Regions from separate parts of the Homo sapiens genome. Here regions 2 and 3 are each linked to region 1. Evidence: promoter capture Hi-C in human tissues and cell types (Jung and others, 2019). All regions are on one chromosome and are shown on one strand. Each heading gives the region's core, a stretch centred on a gene start or on the middle of the fragment in contact. The rest is flanking DNA. Distances are from core to core; before and after follow the strand shown.

Region 1 (2,528 bases), core at 1-2,500:
AGCCTCACGCTGGCTGCTCACAGGTGGTGGAGAAGATACCACTGCCCTTTTTTGCCATGTCCCTGAGCCTGTCCCCCGGGACCCACCTCCTGGCTGTTGGCTTTGCTGGTGAGTGCTGGTGGATGCAGTTTGGGCCTGTCTTAGGTGGGGGCCAAGTGGGCTGACTGGTGCCCTGTTCCAAGACAGGTGCCTCACCTGTGCCCCGGGCTCCTCGTCTCTGGGGTGGGGTGAGGACATCTGCCCTAGAGAGGGTCCTGGAGTCAGGAGATGATGAGGCAGGTGAGGAACCAGGCACAGCGCCCAGCACAGGGCCTGAATGCACGGGTGGCAGCGACTTTTAAGGAGGGAACTGGCCCAGCTGCAGGCCGACAGCCTGGCAGTGATGGACCCCCTAGTCCCAGTGGCACGTGGAGGGCACAGCCAGGAGCCCTTTTAGCACCAGCTCCCCCGACCAGCATCATGCCCAGTGGGGACAGTCTGGGTGGGTTGGGGGAGCCCTCTGAGTGCTGCCTGGTCCTGGCCCTGGCCCACCTGCACCGTCTACCCACAGAGTGCATGCTGAGGCTGGTAGACTGTGCCATGGGGACTGCCCAAGACTTTGCCGGCCACGACAACGCAGTGCACCTGTGCAGGTTTACACCGTCCGCCAGGCTGCTCTTCACGGCCGCCCGCAACGAGATCCTTGTGTGGGAGGTCCCCGGCCTCTGAGATGCAGCAGGGACTGTGGTGGTGGGCATCACGCCTGGTCATGCCAGGCACCTGGACACAGGCTTGGCAGAGGCGCCAGGTTGTCAATGGCCTCATGCTGGGACAGGCCAGGATTCACGTAAATCGCCTGGAGCAAGCTGTTGTAAATTTGGCGCCCTGTGAATACTTTCATACCTGTTGCCCTTTTGCCTAAGAAATCTTTAATGTTTCTATCTTGTAATAAACATGGGCATTTATTGCATTATTGCTGCATTGTTGCACTGGCTGTCTCTGGTCACTCCTGGCCTGAGCTCAGCCTCTGCCCGTCCCTTAATCGGCTGTTTGTCAAGGCCCCTGTGGTGCCGTGAAGCAATGGCCGCTCGGCCTGCCAGGGCGCCAGGACCCTGCGCTGTCCGCCGTGGCCGGCGCGTCCACACGGTGGCGCGCCGCACAGCCTGTCCGCTCTGGCCCGCCCGGCTCGCTGGTGCGGCTGTGCGGGCGGGGCCGGAAGTGTGGGGACAGCGCGGGGCCGAGAACCGGAAGTGCGGGGCGGGCGCGGGGGCAGAGCGAAAGGCTTGAGGACCAGGTCGGGGCCGGGTTCCGGGTCGGGGAGCGGCTCCGGGCGGCAGCTATGAGGCGGGACGTGCGCATCCTGTTACTGGGCGAGGGTAGGCGCCGGCCCGGGGGTCTCGGAGCTGCGGCGGCCGTGAGGCGGGGTGAGGGTCTCGGGGGTCGGGGGGCGCCGTGACCTTGGCCCTCGCGCTGACCGCCTCGCCCCGCGCAGCCCAGGTGGGGAAGACGTCGCTGATCCTGTCCCTGGTGGGCGAGGAGTTCCCCGAGGAGGTAAGGGGCACGCCCGCCGCGGGGGTGGGAGCGGGCCCAGCCGGGGGTCCCTGGTGAGCGCGCGGGTCCCTTGCAGGTCCCTCCCCGCGCGGAGGAGATCACCATCCCCGCGGACGTCACCCCGGAGAAGGTGCCCACCCACATCGTGGACTACTCAGGTAGCGGCCGTAGCCTCCCGGGGGCCCGGCCCGCAGCGGTCCGGCGGGCCTGCTGGGTCCGCAGTGGAGTCTCTTTGTCCCCCTAGAAGCCGAGCAGACGGACGAGGAGCTGCGGGAGGAGATCCACAAGGTACCCGTGGTGCGCGGGACGAGGGAGGGGCTGGGCGCGGGCTCGGCCTAATCCGCTTCGCAGCCTGGGGGATTGGACCGAGGTGCTCCGGGTGTCCTTGGCCCTGATAATTCTGTGACCTCCGCACTGAGGGTTGTCGGGGCCCCTACAGCGCACCCCGCTGGGAGCCGGCACCGCTCAGTCCAGTGGTGCTCCAGGGATAACAGGACCCTTCCCCGCGGGCTCTCCCTCCCTCCTGCCGGGGTGGCAGCAGCGTTTGCTCTTCCTGTGGGCTCTGTGTGCGCCACGTCCCCGTGCTGTGTGCTCCAGCCCACCGTCCCGGCCTCCGGGCACCCGGAGCTCCCAGTACCAGAGCACGTGTGCCGGGGACATCTCCAGGCAAGGGCACAGGCCACAGCCACCCAGGGCAGCCCCTGCTGTTGGCACCCCTCACTGCGGTCCTGTCACTCTGTCTGTAGCGAGGGGGGAGGCAGGGGCCAAGGCGGCGGCTGTCTTGCAGGGTGTTGGGTTGCAGGTGTGGCCGTGTCTGTCCTGAGCCCTCTGCTCCAAGGGTCTTGCTGACCACAGTTATGCTTCTGGGGCCTGGTGTCCCTGCACTGGCAGTGGGCGGGGAAGAGGCTTCTCTGAGGGTTCAGCAGCAGCTCCCAGTGTGACACTGGGGAGTGCCTGCTCTGCCAACACCAGGCTGGAGGCAGGTTTTAGGGAAGGCT
Region 2 (4,582 bases), core at 911-3,410, 1.3 Mb after region 1:
TTTGGGTTCAGGTGATGCGGGCAGTAACAACAACATAATTGACTGGGCTGAGGAGCTCACACCTATAATCCCAGCATTCTGGGAAGCCGAGGTGGGGGATCCCTTGAGCCCAGGAATTCAAGATCAGCCTGGGCAACAAAGCCAGAGCACGTCTCTACAAAAAGTTTTTTTAAAAAATTAGCCAGGCACAGTGGCTCATGCCTGTAATCCCAGCACTTTGGGAGACCAAAGCGGGAGTGTCACTTGAGCCCAGGCGTTCCAGACTAGCCTGGACAACATGGCAAAACCCTGTCTCTACTAAAAATACAAAAATTAGCGGGGCGTAGTAGCACACCTGTAGTCCTAGCTATTCGGGAGGTTGACCTGGGAGGATCGCTTGAGTCCAGGAATTCAAGGCTGCAGTGATCCATGGTCATGCCACTGCACTCCAGCCCAGGCAACAGAGAAACCCCCTTCTCAAGAAGAAACAACCAGGCCCGGCGCGGTAGCTCATGCCTGTAATCCCAGCACTTTGGGAGGCCCTGCTGGGCGGATCATGAGGTCAGGAGATCGAGACCATCCTGGCTAACACAGTGAAACCCCGGCTCTACCAAAAATACAAAAAAATTAGCCGGGCGCAGTGGTGGGCGCCTGTAGTCCCAGCTACTCGGGAGGCTGAGGCACGAGAATGGCGTGAACCCGGGAGGCGGAGCTTGCAGTGAGCCGAGATCGCGCCACTGCACTCCAGCCTGGGCGGCAGTGCCAGACTCCGTCTCAAAAAAAAAAAAAAAAAGAAACAACCCCAAACTGTAATTATGATAAACAACACCGATCTCATTTATGGAGTAGGAAATCAAGCTGGAGAGGTGGGGTCAGCCTAGGTCAGAGCAGGCAAGGACTGTGGGAACCTCTGAGGGAGGGACCTGGTCTGGTTATTATTTTGCAGAGAGGACTCTGGTTGGGGGAAGGCAGCCAGGAGCTGCCTGGGTTGTAGCGGGGAGAGGTGGGCGGAGGAAAGAGGCCTGGGATGTGGAACCCTAGGATCTAGCCCTGAGGGCGGGCCAGGTCCGGGCAGCCTGGGTCCCACGCAGCTGCCCTGAAGAAGGGGCTGGGGGCGTCCTGCCTCCACCCGCGCCCCCAACCACGCCTGCCGTTCCCACCGGCCGCGCCACCCCCGCCCCCGCCCCTGGCTCTGTCCTCCGGTGACCCTGGAAGGGGCACCCGTGGCTGCGACTGCACTCCCTGTAGCGGTCACTTCGTGAAGCCCGGCAAACCCCCTGCAGCTGCCCCTGGCACCCTCAGACGACCAGAGGCCTCGGCCTGGGTCCCCAGCACCGGCCCAAGGGCGGGCGTGGCCGAGGCGGTTTCTCTGCGCGGACGCTCGCTGCCTCCGCCGCAACCCCCGCGGCCACCCGGGGAACTGCAGCGCCGTCAGGCCCCCCGCCGCGCCTGCGCACGCAGACCACCCGGCCTGGCAGCACCGAGCGAGCGTGCCCCCTGCTGGTCAGTCCTGCGCACGGTCCCGCGCCCGGGCCCGGGAGGCCGCCTCGAGGGCCGGGGCTTGCACGTGGCCTCGGCGCCTTCGCCGACCCTACCGGACGCCCCCTCCTCCCACCTGCCGACCCGTCCGCGGGTAGGAGCCTCCCGGGAGCTGCCCACGGCCCCCACCCCCACCAGGGGCCACAGCCCCACCAGGGCCAGGCTCTGCGCGGCACCTGCCACTGAGAGAGCGGAAAGCGGTGGTTGAGCAAGGGTCTGAAGTATGGTCTGTTCCCCCATACGGGCCGCAGACGCTTCCTGGTGGCTGCTCTGAGCCAGGCCTGGGCCCCGGCGAGGGATCACGGTGTCTCAGACAGAGTTCCTTTTTATTCCCCATCCCTCGCCCGAGGTGACGGCCCAGCCGTGCCCAGGCCTGCCCGCTGCCCCTGAACCCAACCCTTGAGGGGCAAGGCCGTGCCCTGGGGAGGAAGGGGCTGCCCCCTCAGAGTCTGCTGTTCCTCAAGGAAGACGCGGGGGCAGCCGCAAGGATGGGGTATCACCCAGCAGGAGCGGGAGGGTAAGGTGACTGATTCCACACCAGACGCTCCATTGCTGGAAACACCACCCCCTCCTCCGGTGACCTGGCATACAGACCTTGCCCACAGCCATCCCTCCCTGGACTCTCAATGTGAGGGGGCCTTGGGGTCCTGCGGTTCACCCGTCTCCCCACTCAAGCAGTCTGCTTGCCGGCACCCCCCCCACCTCCTGAGCCCACTTGCCCCCTCCCACCCCCACCTCCCTACCACATCTTTTTTTTTTTTTTTTTCCTGAGACGGAGATTTGCTCTTGTTGCCCAGGCTGGAGTACAATGGTGTCATCTCGGCTCACCACAACCTCCCTGAGCCTCAGCCTCCCAGGCTGAGCCTGAGCCTCCCAGGTTCAAGCGATTCTCCTGCCTCAGCCTCCCGAGTAGCTGGTGTAGGGAAAAGAAAGAGAGATCAGACTGTTACTGTGTCTATGTAGAAAGGGAAGACATAAGAGACTCCATTTGAAAAAGACCTGTACTTTAAATAATTGCTTTGCTGAGATGTTGTTAATTTGTAGCTTTGCCCCAGCCACTTTGACCCAACCACTTTGATCCAATCTGGAGCTCACAAAAACATGTGCTGTATGAAATCAAGGTTTAAGGGATGTAGGGCTGTGCAGGACGTGCCTTGTTAACAAAATGCTTACAAGCAGTATACTTGGTAAAAGTCATTGCCATTCTCCAGTCTCAATAAACCAGGGGCACAATGCACTGTGGAAAGCTGCAGGGACCTCTGCCCTTGAAAGCAGGGTATTGTCCAAGGTTTCTCCCCATGTGATAGTCTGAAATATGGCCTCGTGGTATGAGAAAGACCTGACCGTCCCCGAGCCCGACACCTGTAAAGGGTCTGTGCTGAGGTGGATTAGTCAAAGAGGAAAGCCTCTTGTAGTTGAGATAGAGGAAGGCCACTGTCTCCTGCCTGCCCCTGGGAACTGAATGTCTCGGTATAAAACCCAATTGTACATTTGTTCAGTTCTGAGATAGGAGAAAAACCACCCTATGGTGGGAGGTGAGACATGTTTGCAGTAATGCTGCCTTGTTATTCTTTACTCTGCTGAGATGTTTGGGTGGAGAGAAACATAAATCTGGCCTACGTGCACATCCAGGCATAGTACCTTCCCTTGAACTTAATTATGATATAGATTCTTTTGTTCACATGTTTTTTGCTGACCTTCTCCTTATGATCATCCTGCTCTCCTACTACATTCCTTTTTACTGAAATAACGAAAATAATAATCAATAAAAACTGAGGGAACTCAGAGACCGGTGCCAGTGCAGGTCCTTAGTATGCTGAGCGCCGGTCCCCTGGGCCCACTGTTGTTTCTCTATACTTTGTCTCTGTGTCTTATTTCTTTTCTCAGTCTCTCGTCCCACCCGACTGGAAATACCCACAGGTGTGGAGGGGCAGTCCTCCCCTTCAGCTGGGATTACAGGCATGGGTCACCACGCCCGGGTAATCCGGGTAATTCTGTATTTTAGTAGAGATGGGGTTTCTCCATGTTGGTCAGGCTGGTCTAGAACTCATAACCTCAGGTGATCCACCTGCCTCGGCCTCCCAAAGTGCTGGGATTACAGGCGTGAGCCACTGTGTCCGGCCCACCACCTTAACATGGATGTTTGGATGAGCCTGGGGCCCTGGGATGCAGGCAGGAGGCACTACTCCCCAGCCCCCACCAGGATCACCACCCCTGCACTGCTGTGGCTGAGATCCCCAGGCGCCAGCAGGCCTCCAGCCACCCAGCTACCGGCCTGAGCCTGGTAGACAGCCCTGGGGACAAAACCCTGCACACAGGGGCCCAGTTTGCAGGCGAAGGCCAGTCTGCTCTTGGGCCTGAGTCCACTCTCGGGGAAACACTGGCCCCAGGTGCAGAGCTGGGAGTGCTGGGAGAAGGCAGCACAGCCCAGGCCCCTGCCTGGCCCTGTGCCTGGGAAGCCTGCTGCCCATTCAGCAGCTCCCTCCCTGCCGCAGCAGAGCCGCCTTCCACAGGACCTGCCCACAGAGCCCTTCCCAGAGCCACTGCTCCTCCTGCAGGGAGAAGCAGAAAGGGACAGGTGTGGGCATAGAGGACCTGAACTGGCTGCCTAGAACAGTATTGGGAGCCCTGTGCACCCCCTGCCAGACCCGCCATCACCAAATGACTCAGCATGGCAGGACAAGGACCCTGATCAGAGGCCACTGGCAGCCGGCCACATGTGGCCTGGAGTGGCTCAGGTCCCTGGCGGCAGAGGACACAGGGCTTCTCCCAGCTGTGTGGCCTCAGACTAATCGCGTTCTCTGAGTCCCCCTTGTCTCCCCAGAAGAATGAGGCTAAGGAGAGTACCTGCTGCACTGGGGTCAGTCGCTGCAGCGGGCCTGCTCTCACCTGCTGGACTAGGGGGTGGGCAGGCCACAGGCTGGGCTAGGACAGTGCCCGAGAGCCAACGAAGACACTGGGTGGCCAGGGCAGCCCCAGAGCGGGCTCCACTTTAGCTGGTGGCCAGCGTCGGACACACTGGGGTCCAGGTGTAAAAAAATCAGGGCATGGGTGGGAGCTGGAA
Region 3 (4,582 bases), core at 1,115-3,614, 1.0 Mb after region 1:
GATCACCTGAGGTCAGAAGTTCAAGACCAGCCTGGCCAACATGGTGAAACCCCGTCTCTACTAAAAATAGAAAAATTAGCTGGGCATGGTGGCGGGCATCTGTAATCCCAGCTACTCAGGAGCCTGAGGCAGGAGAATCGCCTGAACCCAGGAGGTGGAGATTGCAGTGAGCCGAGATTGTGCCATTGCACTCTGGCCTGGGCAACAAGAGCGAGATTTCGTCTCAAAAAAAAAAAAAAATGTAGAATTAGGAGGGCTGCGTGATTCAAAAATGGATATGGAAGTCAGATGGCCTTATGGCCACTCTAAGAGCACCTCACCTAAAATCTTGTTAAGCCACGCCCTCCCACCCACCACCCTTTATTTTTTTTCCTTTTGGTGAAACAAGTCCTCACTCTTTCGTCCAGGCTGGTGTACAGTGATGCAATCATGGTTCACTGCAGCTTTGACCTCCTGGGCTCAAGCCAGCCTTAGCCTCCCGAATAACTGGGACAACAGGCGCATACCACCACACCCAGCTAATTTTTTGTTTGTTTGTTTGTTTTTTTGAGACGGAATCTCGCTCTGTCACCCAGGCTGGAATGCAGTGGCGCATCTTGGTTCACTGCAAGCTCCGCCTCCCGGGTTCACGCCATTCTCCTGCCCCAGCCTCCTGAGTAGCTGGGACTACAGGCGTCCGCCACCACGCCCGGCTAATTTTTTGTATTTTTAGTAGAGACGGGATTTCACCGTGTTAGCCAGGATGGTCTCGATCTCCTGACCTCGTGATCCGCCCACCTCGGCCTCCCAAGGTGCTGGGATTACAGGCGTGAGCCACCACGCCTGGCCTTATTTTTGTATTTTTTGTAGAGACAGGGTCTCCCCATATGCCCAGGCGTGTCTCGAACTCCTGGGCTCAAACAGTCCTCCCACCTCGGCCTCCCAAGGTGCTGGGATTACAGGTGCCAGGTACTGCTCCCGGACAGCCCTTTCTCATTTAAGCTTGGTTATTGGTTATTTTTAAAAAATAATTTTTCTTAAGTGCACCTGTCTTTTTTTTTCTCCCTCCTCAAATCCTCCAGGAAATGGCAACTGCTGACAGGAAGTTTGGCATCCACCTCCCCCAGCCTCCTGAGTGGACAGGGGCCCTGGGCACCACTTCAGAGGTCGGCCAGCACACGCTTGGTTTCTGGGGTACAGTAGCCAGCCCGTGGGTCTCTGCAGGCGGAGACTGAAGCACTCTCTGCCTTCCTGCTTTATAGCAGGAGATCTGAGAACTCCATTCACATCCAGTCACAAGGAGCCCTCAGCGCTCTTTCTAGATCTTTTGAGGAGAAACTGTTATTTTTGTTAACCAAACCTTGAGTGGTCAGTGTTTGCAAAGCTTTCCAGTGAGATCTAACCTCATATCATAGTTTTTGTGTGATGTTGAGCCCTGTAATTTCAAGTATGGTCATCCTTGGTATCCTGCGGGAGTTGGTTCCAGGACCCCCAGGATGCCAAAATCCAAGGATGTGTAAGTCCTTGATATAAAGTGGTGTAATGTTTGCATATAACCTATGCACATCCTCCATATGCTTTTAAATCATCTCTAGGTTACAAGGTTACATATAATACCTAATACTATGCACATAGTTGTTACACCGTATCACCTGGGGAATAATGACAGAAAAGAAGTCTGTAGATGTTCAGTACAGATGCAACCATCCTTTTATTTCTGACATTTTGATCTGAGGTTGGTTGAATCCATGGAAGCAGAGCCCGTGGATACAGAGGGCTGACTTCGTTTCTAAACGTCTGGGATCACAGACAGTCCCATTGCTTAGGACTAGTGAGAGAGCATGTGCCACTCACTGGTTTAAATCTCAATTTCAGTAAGCCTCTCTCTCAAATGCATTTAAAAGTTTTTCCAGTTGTTATGAATTCAGCGTTTCACCGGTTTTTAATGTAGATAGTGCTCTAGAAATAGAGCTTTGTGGCAATTCCTTATTAGTTCTTAAGTTTAAGTTTTTACAATAAAAAGTGATTCAAGAGCCAGGTGCGATGGCCCACACCTGTAATCCCAGCACTTTGGGAGGCCGAGGCAGGTGGATCACCCCAGGTCAGGAGTTCGAGACCAACCTGACCAACATGGCGAAACCCCGTCTCTACTAAAAATACAAAATTAGCTGGGTGTGGTGGCGCATACCTGTAATCCTAGCTACGTGGGAGGCTGAGGCAGAAGAATTGCTTGAACCCAGGAGGCGGAGGTTGTGGTGAGCTGAGATTGCGCCATTGCATTCCTCCAGCCTGGGCAACAAGAGTAAAACTCCGTCTCAAAAAAAACAAACAAAAGTTAGCCAGGTGTTGTGGCAGGCACCTGTAATCTGAGCTACTCAGGAGACTGAGGCTGGAGAATCACTTGAACCCAGGAGGCAGAGGTTGCAGTGAGCTGAGATCGTGCCACTGCACTCCAGCCTGGGCGACAGAGCGAGACTCCATCTCAAAAAAAAAAAAAAAAGAATACTTTTAAGGGAAACTAAAGAGCAGCAGAAGTAGTCTGGCGTCTGTAAACTAGTCATACCAGTATTAACTAATGGTGGTATGTGATTTCTCAGTAGATGTTAAGAAAATACTTTTGCTGGGTATGGTGGCTCATACCTGTAATCACAGCACTTTGGGACGCCAAGGTGGGCAGATCACTTGAGCTTAGGGGTTCAAGACCAACTTTGGCAACATGGCAAAACCCTGTCTCTACCAAAAATACAAAAAATTAGCCAGCTGTGGTGGTGGGTGCCTGTAATCCCAGCTACTCAGGAGGCTGAGGTGGGAGGATCACTTGAGCCCAGGAGGCAGAGGTTGCAGTGAGCCAAAATCACGTCACTGCGCTCCAGCCTGGGTGACAGAATGAGACCTTGTCTCAAAAAGAAAAAAACAAAATACTTTTACCCTGTCTAGTTGTGCCAAAATCCTTGCACAGTGACAAGCTTTCAGGTCTGCCATCAGTAATTGGCATGTACTCTGTGCTTGTAGGGCCATGAAGCCCCCAGGAGGAGAATCGAGCAATCTTTTTGGAAGTCCAGAAGAAGCTACTCCTTCCAGCAGGCCTAATAGGATGGCATCTAATATTTTTGGACCAACAGAAGAACCTCAGAACATACCCAAGAGGACAAATCCCCCAGGTATGGGCCTTTGGAAATCCTTAATCCTTTGGCCTCCACGATTCTCTTTTGAAAATATTTTCTGTTTCTTTATACTGATCCTTTCCCATATTGTCTGGTTCAGGTAATCACTTGTTATCAGAGTTCTTCCAAAATGAAAACGTTCTGATTTGTACTTTCTCTCTTGAAGGTGACTTGAGTAGTCTTGAATTCTCCATCTGTTCTGGAGACTTTGGTTGAATACAGGCACTGAGGACACAAAAGTGGACGGGGGCTTCTGGTTCCTGCCAGGGAGCTGCTCCCAATTGTTCCACGGACCCCCATGAGATTCCTGAAATTGCGTGCAAATTATTGTGCATTTAAACATTTTTCCTAGGGAGGGAGAGTGTTTTTATTCAGATCGTCAGTGGGATTGAAACTCTTAACAAGGAAGAATTGATCTAGCACACATCTACATAGTTCTTCAGTATTTACCCAACCTCCTAGTGGTTACAGTAGGAGGGACTCTTTGAAAAAGGTTTCTTGGCCAGGCGCGGTGGCTCATGCCTGTAATCCCAGCACTTTGGGAGGCCAAGGTGTGCAGATCACGAGGTCAGGAGATCGAGACCATCCTGGCTAACACAGTGAAACCCCATCTCTACTAAAAAAGAAAAAAAATTAGCCGGGCGTGGTGGCGGGCACCTGTAGTCCCAGCTACTCAGGAGGCTGAGGCAGGAGAATGGCATGAACCCAGGAGGCGGAGCTTGCAGTGAGCCGGGATCGCACCACTGCATTCTAGCCTGGGTGACAGAGCGAGACTCCGTCTCAAAAAAAAAAAGAAAAAGAAAAAGAAAAAGGTTTCTCAGCCGGGCGTGGTGGCTCATGCCTGTAATCCTAGCACTTTGGGAGGCCAAGGCAGGTGATCATGAGGTCAAGAGTTTGAGACCAGCCTGGCCGACATGGCAAAACTCCATCTGTACTAAAAATACAAAAATTAGCTGGGTGTGGTGGTGCACGCCTATAATCCCAGCTACTCAGGAGGCTGAGGCAGGAGAATCACTTGAACCCGGGAGGTGGAGGTGGCAGTGAGCCAAATTCATGCCACTGCACTCCAGCCTGGGTGACAGCTAGACTCCATCTCAAAAAGAAAAAAAAAAAAAAATAGAAAAAGGTTTCTCTTGGCTGATAGACTGTCCAGTTGAATAACCACCCAGTGGAGGTTACCTGAGTCGCTTTCCCCCGTCTGTACAAGAGGGGAAAGCATGGTCTCTTCCATCCTTAGAAGGTTTGAGAGGCCGTGCTTAGGTGTCACTGTGTCAGGCAGGTCATGAATCAGAGCCAGATCCACTCCCGACCTCACTCCGTTTTGGGGTACCAATATTTATTGACCAAATGTAGAGGAAAAAAAGCAGTAGATCCAGAAACTAGTTTTTTCTTTTGTTTTTAGTCTGTTTTGAGACGGGGTCTCACTCTGTCGCCCAGGC

The links. Contacts are between HindIII fragments. The study calls those that stand out against the background at their distance.
Region 2: a contact is called between a fragment that was not itself captured here and the fragment with the promoter of RHOT2 in region 1, in 1 of the 25 tissues and cell types used here (spleen).
Region 3: a contact is called between a fragment that was not itself captured here and the fragment with the promoter of RHOT2 in region 1, in 4 of the 25 tissues and cell types used here (IMR-90 fibroblasts, dorsolateral prefrontal cortex, lymphoblastoid cells and 1 more).

The regions. Positions count from the first base shown.
Region 1 is chr16:666,882-669,409 of GRCh38, forward strand. RHOT2 (ras homolog family member T2) reads left to right here and starts at 1,251. Exons shown (of 19, transcript NM_138769.3): 1 at 1,251-1,355; 2 at 1,472-1,530; 3 at 1,607-1,688; 4 at 1,775-1,818. The coding sequence starts at 1,319. It overlaps WDR90 (WD repeat domain 90), which reads left to right. Exons shown (of 41, transcript NM_145294.5): 40 at 24-108; 41 at 551-949. The coding sequence ends at 708. RefSeq lists an enhancer at 962-1,643 and silencers at 1,029-1,368, 1,429-1,528, 1,629-1,718. The HindIII fragment of the contact is 52,780 bases long and covers 1-2,528 here.
Region 2 is chr16:1,928,394-1,932,975 of GRCh38, forward strand. No RefSeq gene overlaps it. Among named protein-coding and RNA genes, the nearest start is that of HS3ST6, 12 kb to the left of the region's middle. The HindIII fragment of the contact is 5,872 bases long and covers 1-4,582 here.
Region 3 is chr16:1,682,448-1,687,029 of GRCh38, forward strand. It overlaps JPT2 (Jupiter microtubule associated homolog 2), which reads left to right. Exons shown (of 5, transcript NM_144570.3): 2 at 2,992-3,140. Among named protein-coding and RNA genes, the nearest start is that of JPT2, 6.5 kb to the left of the region's middle. The HindIII fragment of the contact is 5,684 bases long and covers 1-4,582 here.